Regions from separate parts of the Homo sapiens genome. Here region 2 is linked to region 1. Evidence: promoter capture Hi-C in human tissues and cell types (Jung and others, 2019). All regions are on one chromosome and are shown on one strand. The core of a region is centred on a gene start or on the middle of the fragment in contact, and the rest is flanking DNA. Distances in the headings are between cores, read along the strand shown.

Region 1 (6,775 bases), core at 3,163-5,662:
GCTTACGCCTGTAATCCCAGCACTTTGGGAGTCCAAGGCGGGCGGATCATTTGAGGTCAGGAGTTCAAGACCAGCCTGGCCAACATGATCGCACCCCGTCTCTACTAAAAATACAAAAATTATCTGGGCGTGGTGATGCACGCCTGTAGTCCTAGCTACTAAGGAGGCTGAGGTAGGAGAATCACTTGAACCCAGGAGGCAGAGGTTGCAGTGAGCCAAGATTGCACCATTGCACTCCAGCCTGGGTGACAAGAGTGATACTCAAAAAAAAAAAAAAAAAAAAGGTTATGACTCACAGACTCACAGAAGGCTCAGATGATCATTTGCATTGTTTGGCAATAAAGTATTTTTAAGTTAAGATATATATATATTTTAGTATACAGTACAGTGTATACATAACTTATATATGCATTGGAATATAAAAAAAAATTGTGTGACTTGCCTCATTGTGATATGTACTTTATTGCATTGGTCTGAAACCAAATTGCACTGTCTTCCAGGAACGCCTGTACATGTAAATCCATGTTAGTGAGGCAACAAGCAGGAGATGCCTATTAGTTAGCCTGTTTACATTTTTAGGTGTGTATTCTAAACCTTAATTTTCCCTGCCCAAAGAGCATCTAAAAGTTCATCATAGCAATATTTGGTGACATGTGGGTCTTGAAATCACAGAACATAAACAAGTGTATACGGATTAAAACTAATCTTAGGCCGGGCGCGGTGGCTCACGCTTGTAATCCCAGCACTTTGGGAGGCCGAGGCGGGTGGATCATGAGGTCAGGAGATCGAGACCACGGTGAAACCCTGTCTCTACTAAAAATAAAAAAAAATTAGCCGGGCGTGGTGGCGGGCGCCTGTAGTCCCAGCTACTCGGAGAGGCTGAGGCAGGAGAATGGCGTGAACCCGGGAGGCAGAGCTTGCAGTGAGCCGAGACTGCGCCACTGCACTCCAGCCTGGGTGACAGAGCGAGACTCCATCTCAAAAAAAAAAAAACCTAATCTTAATGAGAGTCTCAAAAATATTACAGTCTTGTGTAGTTACTAAAGCATAATCTACTCATAAATCAAATGAAACATAATTATATTCGAGCAGAATTCTTCTCCAATTGATTCAGTGTCTATATTTCCATAGAGCACAGGACAGTCCCTCCATGGATTTTCAAATTTCTCTTTTAGCATGCCTATTGTTTTCCCAGTAACTCACCATGGTGTCCAGTGAAATACTAATTAAGGTGGAAATAAGCAGTAGGAACAAATGAGTTAGTGAAAAACAAATACCCTGTTTTCATCAAATTCTTGCTGTCTTGCATTTCATAGCTACTTCCTGTATTATTAGTCTGTTCTCATCCTGCTGATAAAGACATACTGGAGACTGGGTGATTTACAAAGAAAAAGAGATTTAACGGACTCACGGTTCCCCATGGCTGGGGAGGCCTCACAGTCATGGTGGAAGGCGAAAGGCACGTCTTACACGGCAGCAGACGAGAGAAAATGAAGACCAAGAGAAAGGGCCTTATAAAACCATCAGATCCCATGAGACTTATTCACTACCACAAGAACAGTATGGGGGAAACTGCCCCCATGATTCAATTATCTCCCACCAGGTCCCTCCTACAACACATGGGAATTGTGGGAGCTACAATTCAAGATGAGATTTGGATGGGGACACAGACAAATGATATCACATCCATTCCAAAGCACTTGCAGGACCATGAACACAATTTCATTTAAACCAAAGGCTACTACTATCTTGGTTGTGCATTGGCTTGGCTTCATCCTCTTTATTGTAAAACTTTCTGTATTGACTGCTTTCTCTGTGTTTGACATTATCCTTTCCCCAATCTCATACCGTCAAATACAGATTTAATTGTATAGGCTCCTACATGCAAACACCTTCCAGGGCCAGGAATTGAAGCAGGCTGGGGACATGGAGGCAAATGGGAAGTATATGCCCACCTATGGGAGGCACAGGATGCCCCTATTGGCCCCCTACCACTTGGGAATGCAGAACTGACCTGGCCAGATCTTCCTTCCTTTTTTTTTTTTCAAGACGGAGTCTCACTCTATCACCCAACCAAGCTGGAGTGCAGTGGCACAATCTCAGCTCACCACAACCTCTGCCTCCCCAGTTCAAGTGATTGTCATGCCTCAGACTCCTACAGGTATGGTGGCTTACGCCTGTAATCCCAGCACTTTGGGAGGCCAAGGTGGGTGGATCACCTGAGGTCAGGAGTTCGAGTCCAGCCTGGCCAACATGGCAAAACCCCGTCTCTACTAAAAATACAAAAATTAGCTGGGCATGGTGGAGGCTGCCTGTTATCCATATCTTCCTATTTTTCCTGATAAAATAAAATTCTTGTGGTTTTCAAATGTTGGTAATTGATCTTAATTTGTCAACAATATACATTGAGTCATACAAAACACACCTGAATTATATTCTCAGTTTATATTGAACCCACAGGCCAGCAATTGACTTTTACTGGATTCCAGCAATGAATGTAGTTACAGGGCCAATTCAACCTGGAAAAGATATTTGTTCATCCTTTCTACTTTTGCTTTGAGGATGCAGTGAGCTATAATCACATCAATGCACTCCAGGCTAGGCAACGGAGATAGGCCTTGTCTCTAAAAATAACAAAGAAAACAAAAGAAGAGAGATACTGAGCAGGTAGAAGGGGTACTATGATATTTTGGATGTACCTGTTTTTTAAAATGATTGTCTACTCCAATACACAGTGAATCCCTATGCATTATAGGATGAGTGTGCTGGATTCCATGACTTCCTTGAAGCCCATGAATTCTCTGAGACTGTCTCCATCATCATTGGGATTGTTTGGCTCATGAGCATGAATTATAGAGACTTAACAGAGGTAGTTCAACCAAGGACAGAGAAAGGTCTGAAATGCCTGTTGGGTGAGGAGTGGCACTGAGATTAGTAAAAAATCACTGCCTTGACCACTTCAAAACATTATAAATAAATGTTTAAATATTTCCTTAATATAATTTACTAACAGATAATTCGAACGAATGTCAAGGAATAACACACTATCATTCAGCTACCATATATATATAGCTATATATTTCAGTTTGTGAAATAAACTAGTATTTAGAACAAGCAATTGAAAGCCGCAAATAAAGATGATGAAACAAGTTGGTAAATACTTTTTCTAAGCAAACTGGTTGTAGATTTAGCATTGTTTAAATTACTGTCAATTTTTTCTTATGAGGAGTGATTTCATCATTTGTTTAAAACCTGGCTTTTGACACAGTTTTTCTGAAGTCTTTAGAAATTTGAAAAATTATCTCGCATGACTCTGTATTTCATGAAATACCAATATTTTAACATTTCCCTGTAAACAATAAAACGTACTAATATGGATTATGAATGTGAACAAATTGTGAATGGACTTTTTAAGAAAGTAGATTAATTAAATATCTGTAACCAGAAAATACATTTTTAAAATGTAGGTTTGTGTAGTTTTACTTCTATACCTTGCCACATAACATTTTGTGATAGACAAATGCTCTTTGTTTAGAATTTCTCTTGTAGAGAAAGCTTCATTCAGTTGTTTCTTTCCCTTTATTTATATGCCTGTGTGCATGATGTCTAAATCACTGGTCAGGAGTTCCCTGGGGATTTTCGTATCTGACTACATGGCAAGATTCCAGACCCAAAGTAAACCTTTCAGAGAGTGGGAATGAGTGGGAGGATGTCGCCCTGGGCATGGTGCTTAGGAGGCCAGATTTCCCTAAACCTGCTCTGCTGGGAGCCCTAGGAAGCCTCAGATGCAGTCTGCTGTCCAGGTATACTCACAGGGTATGGGGTGGGGGACTGTCAATTTCTGAATAGACTTTGTCTCATCCACACGACAACATATTTTAATTTTAAAGGCGAACGTCAACCTATTTAGAAAACTATAAGTGTGACTGATGCATTCATTATTTAATAACTCCGGGGTGAAACTTGAGGTGAACGGTTTCACCCTTTCATACTCAGGAATGGAACTAGTCCTCGGTACCGTGCACAGTCTGACCTCACGCTCGCACGCTGGGCTCCCGGCCTCCTGGCAGTGCACTTAAGTGTACCCCGCGTGTGCCCGGCGGACTCCCGTGCACACCGCCGCCGTGCTGTTGAGTACGAAAGACCCCCGAGAGGAGCTCGCAGATGAGAGCCTAGCTGTTGCTGTGAGACTGACTGCGGGTGGCAGCCGGCAAGAAGGAACTGCCAGTACCGACCCTGGCGCTCCCCACCAACTGCGGCGCAGCCTCCTCTGCGGTGCCCGCCCTTCGGCATCACTGCAGTCCCTGTAGCAAAGCTAACTTTAAAAATTTAAATAAAATAATAATTTTTTAAAGGCCCGAAAACTCCGGCTCCCACCCCTCCCCCAGCCTGCCCGGCGGCGGCGGCGCTCAGTGAGTGACACGGCGAGCGTGAGCCGCGGCCCCAGCCGGGCCGAGCGCGCTGCCTGAGCTGAGCCGCCGTAGGTGAGGGGCCCGCGTCCCCGCCCGCCCTGGGCGCCGCGCCTGGCACTGATCCTGCCGGTCGCCCACTGTCGCCGCCGCCGCCGCCCGCGGGCACCATGACAGCTCTGAGCGCTGGGGTTACAGGTTGGTCACCGCCGCCGGTGCCCGGGAGGCTGCGGCGCGGCCGGCTCCGTGCCCTGCGCCCGAGGCCCGCGATGCGCGCTCGTTAGTTCCTTGGCCGGTCCGGGCCAGGACGGCTCAGGGGCGCTGGGGCTGCGAGAGGGGCTGCTAGAGGGGCTGCGGGCGGGGGCCCCGCGCGGGGGAGGGGTGGGGAGGGGCGCCTCCACCCGAGAGCGGGGCGGTGGGGTCCTTGCCGGCCTGGCCGGGGCGCGGGAGCCGCGATGCGCCCTCCCTATTCCTGCGCGTGGGTGTCGGGGGCGCCTGCCGCGGGATGCCCCTGGGCTGGCTTGGGAAGCCCAGGGCCGGCGACACCTCGGGCCTGCCCCGCCTGGGCATCTAGCAGGTGTTGGGGGGCAGGTGGCTGAGGACGAGGCCACTGGGCATCACTACAGCGCTGCACCTGCCCCCTCGGCACCAGGGCCGCTGCCTGGGTAAACCTCTGGGCCAACGCGCGGGTGGGGAGGTGGGGGTGGGCAGCCTGGCTCCAGCAGGTCTCCGCGGGGGCTCCGCGGCCTTGCCCCACCCCCATGCTCCTGTGGATTGCTCCTTGCTAAATGTCCCTTATGATATTCATTGGCCTTGTTAAGCAGCCGTCATTAGGGTGGCTACACCGAACGCAAAACAGTGTCCTGCCAAGCAACACCATTTTGTCACTGAATCTTTAAGACACCAGCAAGGATGGCCTGGCTGGGATCCCTCTGGGGGCCCAGATCGCAGTCATTTTGCTGACTTAATGTTCCTCTTTCAGGATGGTGTGAGAATGCTGAACTCAGACCCTTAGTGCTTGAAATACCTTAGAATAAATCTTTCAGTTTCAGGTACAATTTTTCAGACACTGTATTATTAAGGATGTGTGAATACACGCTCACTTTCAGGCCTCAGAAGGTTTTACTCTTAATCTGGTGTTCGTGTGGTCATCAGCTAGGCCCGACTGCCCTGGTGGTGAAATGTGGGTTGAGGACCAGTGACCTTCGTGTTAGTAGTTGGTGGATAACACCTCTAATAGGGGATCAAAAATTAACAGGTGGCGATTTTGAAATATATATGTATGTATATATATATATATATGTGTGTGATTTGTATGTTCATAACTACAACTGTGATTTGATATGGCCTGGGAGAGGAGCGGTTTCACTATGGTAGTTACCCCTGAGGCAGATGCATCTCAGGACTGGCTTTTTAAATTCAAAGATAAGGTTTCCACAGTTCTAAATAAAAATCATGGCTTCCCAAACATCTGCAACGAGAAACATTTACTCCCTAACTGGTTGGCTGTCATTCTGCGTGCTTTTCTAGAGTCGATTTTTCGTTCTTCTGTAGTATACTTTGACCTAGCCACTGCTAAAACCAGACAGTGTGAAGACAAAATCCAGCTTTGGAGAAAAACTTAAAAAGTGAAAAGGTTCAGTTGGATCCTCTTCTGTGTTCATAGAAGACATAATCTGTTTGCAGAATAAATGTGCCGTCACTGATAAGGACTATGCTAAAATCTCTACAGAACTCTAGGAGAAAGCATGTCTTATAAAATAGTGGTTGTACACTTATAACTTTGGATAGGACTTGCAAGATATTCAAAGGAGAAATGTACTTAAAAAATGTACTTAAAAAAAGTCTACTCAAAATAGTGTCATTTAGTTGCAATTTAGTGAACTGAAGATTTGAGTAGCATTTTCTTCTTCTTGGGTATGGCATTTCTTTGAAATGGTTTCCAGGTGATTTTATCATTCCGGCATGCTTTGTGTGTGCATGTATGTGTATACACAAATGTACACATTTGTTTTATCATTTATCGATGATGTTCAGATAATTTCAGAATTTCCATAGCTGTATAAATTTATCCCAGGTCAGAGTCACATGTGGATTTCAAGTTTGTGAATGAAAATTCACATCTACACCTCTATATCCTAAGATAAGCTAAGCACTGGGCCAGAAGCTGGGTGGTGAGTGAGAAAAAGAGATAAACTGAGAGCCTAAGAATCCTTCAGGAAAGACAAATATGTAAGCAGGTGGATATACAGTGAGATGTCTTATTTTCTAGTTTTGCTGTGGAAACTATGATAGTGAGCTTAAACATATTAAGAATGGTCCCCAAGGCCACACACGGTGGCTCATGCCTATAATCCCAGCACTTT
Region 2 (6,775 bases), core at 1,590-4,089, 350 kb before region 1:
AGCAGAGAGATAATGATTCTACTATTGTCTTTAAATTCTTACCCGCTTCTCTGCCAGTCATCGAACTACTCCCTCTACTCCAAAACTTGGTCTGCTCTGCTCTAAATCAATGAGATATTGCTATCTGTCTGATGCAGGTTACATTCCAGTATCTTATCTTTCCCAGTTTGTATTGCAATAATATTGGGGTAAAATATTGCATGGGTTTACAAAAGGGATTCAGTAAAATACAAGCACACATTTAGAGCTTGTTCTTGGATTTGATTTGCATTGTCAGTTTGGTGCCTTCAGGAGTCATTTCACATTCTTTGCTTCCACATATCAGCTTTTAGTAAAGCTTTGCTCTATATCGGTAGCTTTCAACCTGTGCTGCACTTCTGAAACCCTAGGGAGCTTTTAAAAAAAGAATGATCTCGTATCACACCAGACCAATTAAATCAGAATCTCTGGAGGCTGGCACTCTGGCATCAGTACTTAAAACAGCTCCCCAGGAGATTCTCAAAGGCAGCGATGGTGACAAACCACAGCTCTGTACAATAGAACAGGCTGCTCCTTTATAATTATTAATCATAGTGTATATTAATTCATCATCACATACGTGGCTAGAAAAAAATTTAGAACAAAAAGATATGTGATATGTAAAGGCCTACGATAATTCAGACTTCTTTGAGGAGAGCTTTTATTTTATTGTTATTCTTATTTTATCTCTTGTCAATATAAATTGAGAGAATAAACAGACAAACATTACAAATTAGTGATTAATTGCATTTAAAGCCTAGTTAAGACTATTTAAGACTATTATGCATAATACAGGAAAACTACCTGTATTATTTATAGTGGGTGCCTTCTGAAGGATCTGAAGGAGAATCAGTTCTATGCCTCTCTCCTCATTCCCAGGAGGTGCCTGGCATTCCTTGGCTTGTAGACGCATCACCCTAATCTCTACCTCTGCCTTCACATGGTGTCCCCTGTGTGTGTGTTTTTGCCCCATGTGTCTCCTCTTTTTATATGGATGCCAGTCATGAGATTTAGGCCCACCCTAAACTACTATGACCTTATTTAAAGTAAACTTAACTAATTACATCTGCAAAGACCACATTTCCACATAAAGTCATATTCAGAGTTCCAGGTAGACATGGATTTTTGGAGGACACTCTTCAGCCCAGTACTGCACTCATATTACTCAACTTCTCCACTGCTTTTGATGCTGTTCAACACTCTTCTGAGAACTCCTTCCTCCCATATCTTCTGTGTCTATTTTGCCTGTTTTGCTCCCTTCTGTCATAATGCCCCTAACAACATATTGCAAGAGTCTGCTAAATAAATATCTGCTTCCTCTTATTGTCTGTGCAATCCTGGAGGGCAGGGAGTTGACTTATTCAGGTCTCTATGTGAACACCAACCAATTTTTAGCTCATGGAAGCCCGTAGTAAGAATTGGAAAAAAGGAAGAGAGGAAGAAAAAGAGAAGGTTGTGACTTCTGCCTCCATGGACATCATGAGGAAACACACACGTGCCTTGACTTGATGGAACTATGCAATTCATTTTTTAAAATATTGGCATTTCATACTCACATCAAATATCTTGCACCTGAATGATATCATTCCAGCTAGTACAGTTTCTGGTTATAAAATTGTAGATGAGGATTAATGATTATTAAGCCCGGTTTTCCAAATTATTGAGGCTCACAATTTTGAGAAGTGTGATTTCCATAGATTTGTTTAAGAAGTAAAAGGCTGGCCAGGCACAGTGGCTCATGCCTGTAATCCCAGCACTTTGGGAGGCCAAGGTGGGCAGATCACCTGAGGTCAGGAGTTTGAGACCAGCCTGGCCAACATGGCAAAACCCCGTCTCTACTAAAAGTACAAAAATTAGCTGGGTATGGTGGCAGGTGCCTGTAATCCCAGCTACTCAGGAGGCTGAGGGCAGGAGAAGCTTGAACCCAGGTAGCAGAGGTTGCAGTGAGCCGAGATCGCACCACTGTACTCCAGCCTGGGCGACAAAAGCGAGACTCCGTCTCAAAATAAATAAATAAATAAATAAATAAAATAATAATAATAATAATAAATAAAAGGCTTCTATATGCACAGAGGATTTGTTTCACATATTGATTCTCTTATGTGGTCTTCATTTCACAACTGTATGAATCTGTAGCATGAAATACATATTTGGCAAGTAAAGATTCTATAAAGGAAAGAGTAGGAAGGTATAACGAACCAATTCTGAGATTTCCCTAAGCAATCAGTTCACCTGCTTGCCTCCATGGAGGCCATCATTGTCTTCTAGCACAATTTGTGAGAGACAGCAAGGCATCTTTTTACCACTATTAACCTAATCTATGGCAGTGTTCCCAGGGACCAATGTTGTCAGTTGTAGAGTAATGCCATTTAGAGGCTGGATGGGTTTACAGTTGCAGCCAAGCAAGGGTCTGCATTGAATTGACCCAAACAGGGAATTTTCAAGTAATTTCTCTATCTTTGTATGTGTGAGTTTTTTAGTAGTCAATTCAATTTTCATTAGCTTGTCAACTCTAATATCTGACAACTGAAATATAAAGTAGGGAGGAGAAAGAGCAGAATTAAGAGAAGGAATATATGTGCCAGAGGCAGAGTATTATCATTGTCCTGATGTAGTCATGATGACCTAAGTCATCCTTTGATATTGCTTTCATATAAAGGTTGTAGAATATATGAACCAAATCAAAATGGGACAAGGAGAGCTCCTTGCTCACAAAATGCCTCTGATCTATTGTGTGCATAAAGCATGACTTTATGACAAACACATAGAGACTCTAGATGGGGGAAGTTACAGTCCTTGAGTGATTTTCGTATTCAACCCAGTGGGATCACTATCATTTAGTGGTATATTAAAATGCTAATTCTCATCCAAGGTCAAATTCAACTCCATACAAGCTGTTTTAAAATTCAGAATTGGTTGCTTTATGAAAAGTACATTTGAGACTATTTGGAAATAAAGACTATTTGAAAATTTTCCGGCTTCCTTAACTTCAGTACCTCTTGCCATTGTGTCACAGCTTGGGTGTGGTGGGGGAGGTGCAATCTTCTGGGTAGAGACCAGGAATCCCACTAAGCCTACATCGTATGGGATAGCCCTATGACAAAGAATGACATGGCCCAAAAGGCCAATCATGCCAAGCTTGAGAAACTGCTCAGAATAAGCAGGGAGAGTGAAGAAACAAGCTGATGCTCAAACTAGTGAATCTCATTTTGTTGTTAATCGCCCCTTTTCTGCAACACTTGTGGGTTAGGGAAAATAATTCTAAAGCAAGAGCAAAGACAGAGTTGGGAGATCACCAGTGAGGTTCAATTTTCCATCACATTCACTCTGCTCCACACCTCAGATAATCATGTGCTTAACTGCGCAACTTGCTTGACAATTACAGAACACTTTCTCACCCATTACTACCTTGATCCTCACAATTCTGTGGGGTAGTAGGAGCAGATGCTGAAATTGCCATACGCAAATCAGTGAACTGAAGCTTAGAGACCTCCAGCAGGGGCAGAGGGTCAGCGGAAACTATCCCAGGGTTCAGCCAACAAGAAAGTATATTGGAATCAGAGTATTAAAATAAGAATAATAAAACCAACTAAAATTTACCGTGCTTTTTATTTCCACTCAGTGCCAACAATTCTTAACAGTGTCAGTGATGGATCCCTGTGCCCCAGGGGACAGACTTCTTACTAGCTTCTGCCACTTTGGTCAGCTGCTGTTCTGGGGAGGTTAACTTTCTTACTTCAAATTCACACTAGAGAGGAAAAGGAAATGCATACATATAGGACCAAATTTCACTCCTGATGTCTCCACACACAAAGCTCCTTCACCATGCCAGTCTCAATCTGCTGCTCTGGGGAGGTTAAGTTTTGTTTGTTTGTTTGTTTGTTTTTTGAGACAGAGTTTCATTCTTGTTGCCCAGGCTGGAGTGCAGTGGTGCAATCTCGGCTCACTGCAACCTCCGCCTCCCAGGTTCAAGCCATTCTCCTGCTTCAGCCTCCCAAGTAGCTGGGATTACGGGTGTGCATCACCACACCTGGCTAGTTTTTGTATTTTCACTAGAGATGGGGTTTCACCATGTTGGTCAGGCTGGTCTCAAACTCCTTACTCTCAGGTGATCCACCTGCCTTGGCCTCCCAAAGTGCTGGGATTACAGGCATGAGTCACCATGCCCAGCCAGGAAGTTAAGTTTCTTACCTCAAATTAACGCTAGAGAGGAAAAGGAAATGCATAAATACAGGACCAAATTTCACTCCTGATGTCTCCACACACAAAGTTCCTTCACTATGCCTGTCTCAATCTTGTCATTAAAGTGGTATTTCCTTATTAGGAAAAAAAGAACTAGGTCCTTAAAATACTGTTCATTCCATCCCATGGGTTGAGTACATTACATATTGACAGTGGTACATTCCAGCCACCTGAGACAACCAATCTTATGCCAATCAGTGCTACAGAGAGCACCCCTTGCCTTACAGCTGGCCTAACCACAGCTGGGGATGACTGACTGGAGAATGTTGTGATCTTTGACTTTGTCACAGGTAAAATGGTGTTTCTAACTGTAATCACAGGTCTCTGTGCTGTGCCTTTCACTTCATCACACTCTATTCTCTCTAATTCCAACCCTGCCAAACTCATTAGGCCAAATTTGCTTACTTCTGTGCATTCTACACACTTCCAACAAACCCTATGTTTGCCTTTCCTTGTGATGATAAAGAGAAATGGCAGTTAGTGGTCTGAAAGATGGCGTCTGACCTTTTTATGATGGGGCTGAAGGCTGGATGCTGGAGGCAGGGTGTGTGTTTGGTGCAGCACTGATATTCCCTATGGCAGTGTCAGAGCCTGCCTAAATACAACCTACTGACTAGCATGAAAATATTCCTCTGGGCAAGAGGGAAAAATGTGACACCATGGGAGGTAGGATTTGACATGATACGGATTTGGAAAAATGAAATGTGACAATTGCTAATTCCATACAGTTCAAGGAAAACTGGCCTATTTCAGGTTCCCAGCAGGTATTTAATACTGAAGTGTAAAGAAAGATGGCAAACTTACAATTATTTTGATTGAACTATGGTTATCTCCATTCAACTAAGGGAGCATTTGCAGCAATGCCGATGGGCCAGCTATTTTGGTTTTGCCATATTGTTTCATTTCTTGACCCACGTTACATAATCACTCAGACCAACAACAACTGACTGAATTGTTATTATATTTATATGTATTACCTAAGTATATATTTCCTGTTAGTCTTTCAATGGATAGCTCAAAGCAGATAGAGTGAGAAGGACAATTATGCCTTTGCTTGATTTACTTGAATATAATGCCCCTGACAAAGGTATTTTTGATATAATAAATGTGTGAGTTTCTTGTTTAGAATCTTAAACTCGGTCCGAAGGTTGGGATTTTGCACAATGGGGTTAGAAGAATTCACTGAAACACTTATCCAGCTGAAGGCATATATTGCCAATTTCATATTTGTGTCTTGCTATTTCAAAATATTGCATTGCCAGGCAAGATTTACTGCAGCATTCTGTAGCTTAACCCTCTTTCACATAGGCACACATCCCTCCAAGCTTTTCCAAAGCATGTTTAACAGTGCTACTAGAAATCAGACAAAATGCTCCTACCATTTGGATTTTGGCTTTACCAAGTTTATTAAGTCTCTATCAATGGAGCAGGCTACTCACAGCACAGCACAGTACCTCACATGGTTGCTACACAGATCATCAACCTATACTGCTTAGTATTCAGATATCAAAATCAGCAGAATCAAAAAGGGCTGGAATTAGCTGGTTCCTGTCCAATTCTAACTCCCTGGCGGCCTCTCTCTTAGGGACTCTTGTGTTGGTTTGTGTTCCCAGAGATGGGAGCCTTTAATTGTGATTTTAAGCCATTAGATTATGAACTGAATAATGGCAGAGAAATGCCTACCCAACTGCCATTAGTGAGGACAAGCGTTGTTTTCTTGATAAATTGTAATGTTTAATTTTTTAATTGACAAATCATAATTGTATATATTCATGGAGTACATAGTGATGTTTTTATATATAGTGTACAGTGATCAGATCAAGGTAATTAGCCTAGCCATCATCTCTAACATTTATTATTTCTTCGTGTAGGGAACATTCAAATCCTCCTTGGTGCTCTTTGAAACTATATATTATTGTTAACTATAGTCATTGCTGCTAACTTGACCAAGAAACCTAAATAAGCATTTGTCTATAGTCGACCTTTCTGCATGCCTCAGAACAGTAGAAGGGGACTTGCTGACAGAGACCCACAGTCACGTGGGGTCCAAGTTTTGAACTTTCCCCTGACTGGCCAAGTGACAGGCAGCAGTCACTGTGGTCTTTAAAATACCCCAAAATACAACATAGATTGTGGTATAACTTTCTCATCTGAGTTTTCCAACTAGCAAGAAAATCTCTATCTATGTGTGTCATTATGTCTCATTTTTCCTCATTTTTAGGCAGTATATAAGTTAAAGAATCTGGTTTGTGTTTTCTCCTGCATATTCTGTGATTTATTTGAAGGTTCGCAAATTATATAAAGCTAAAAGTTATTTTTACATGTAAACTACATAGAATCACATAGCATTATTTTGTTGTTTTACTATGACAAATGTCTCTAATTTAAGGCATTGGGCCTTATAACCTTTGTTAGTAAATGGAATTGGAGAAGAAGTGTGCCTAATTAATATTTTGGTTTGAAAAGTAAGATTACTGTATTAGAATTTTATCCAAGGATTAAATTTTTAATAGGG

The links. The method cuts DNA at HindIII sites, captures the fragments that hold promoters and counts their contacts. A contact is called where the count stands out against the background at its distance.
Region 2: a contact is called between a fragment that was not itself captured here and the fragment with the promoter of NALCN in region 1, in 1 of the 25 tissues and cell types used here (aorta).

Annotation. Positions count from the first base shown.
Region 1 is chr13:101,414,145-101,420,919 of GRCh38, reverse strand. NALCN (sodium leak channel, non-selective) reads left to right here and starts at 4,412. Exons shown (of 44, transcript NM_052867.4): 1 at 4,412-4,607. RefSeq lists enhancers at 4,510-5,060, 5,061-5,611. The HindIII fragment of the contact is 15,657 bases long and covers 1-6,775 here.
Region 2 is chr13:101,760,992-101,767,766 of GRCh38, reverse strand. All of the region lies in intron 3 of FGF14 (fibroblast growth factor 14), which reads left to right. Among named protein-coding and RNA genes, the nearest start is that of FGF14, 150 kb to the left of the region's middle. The HindIII fragment of the contact is 3,406 bases long and covers 1,137-4,542 here.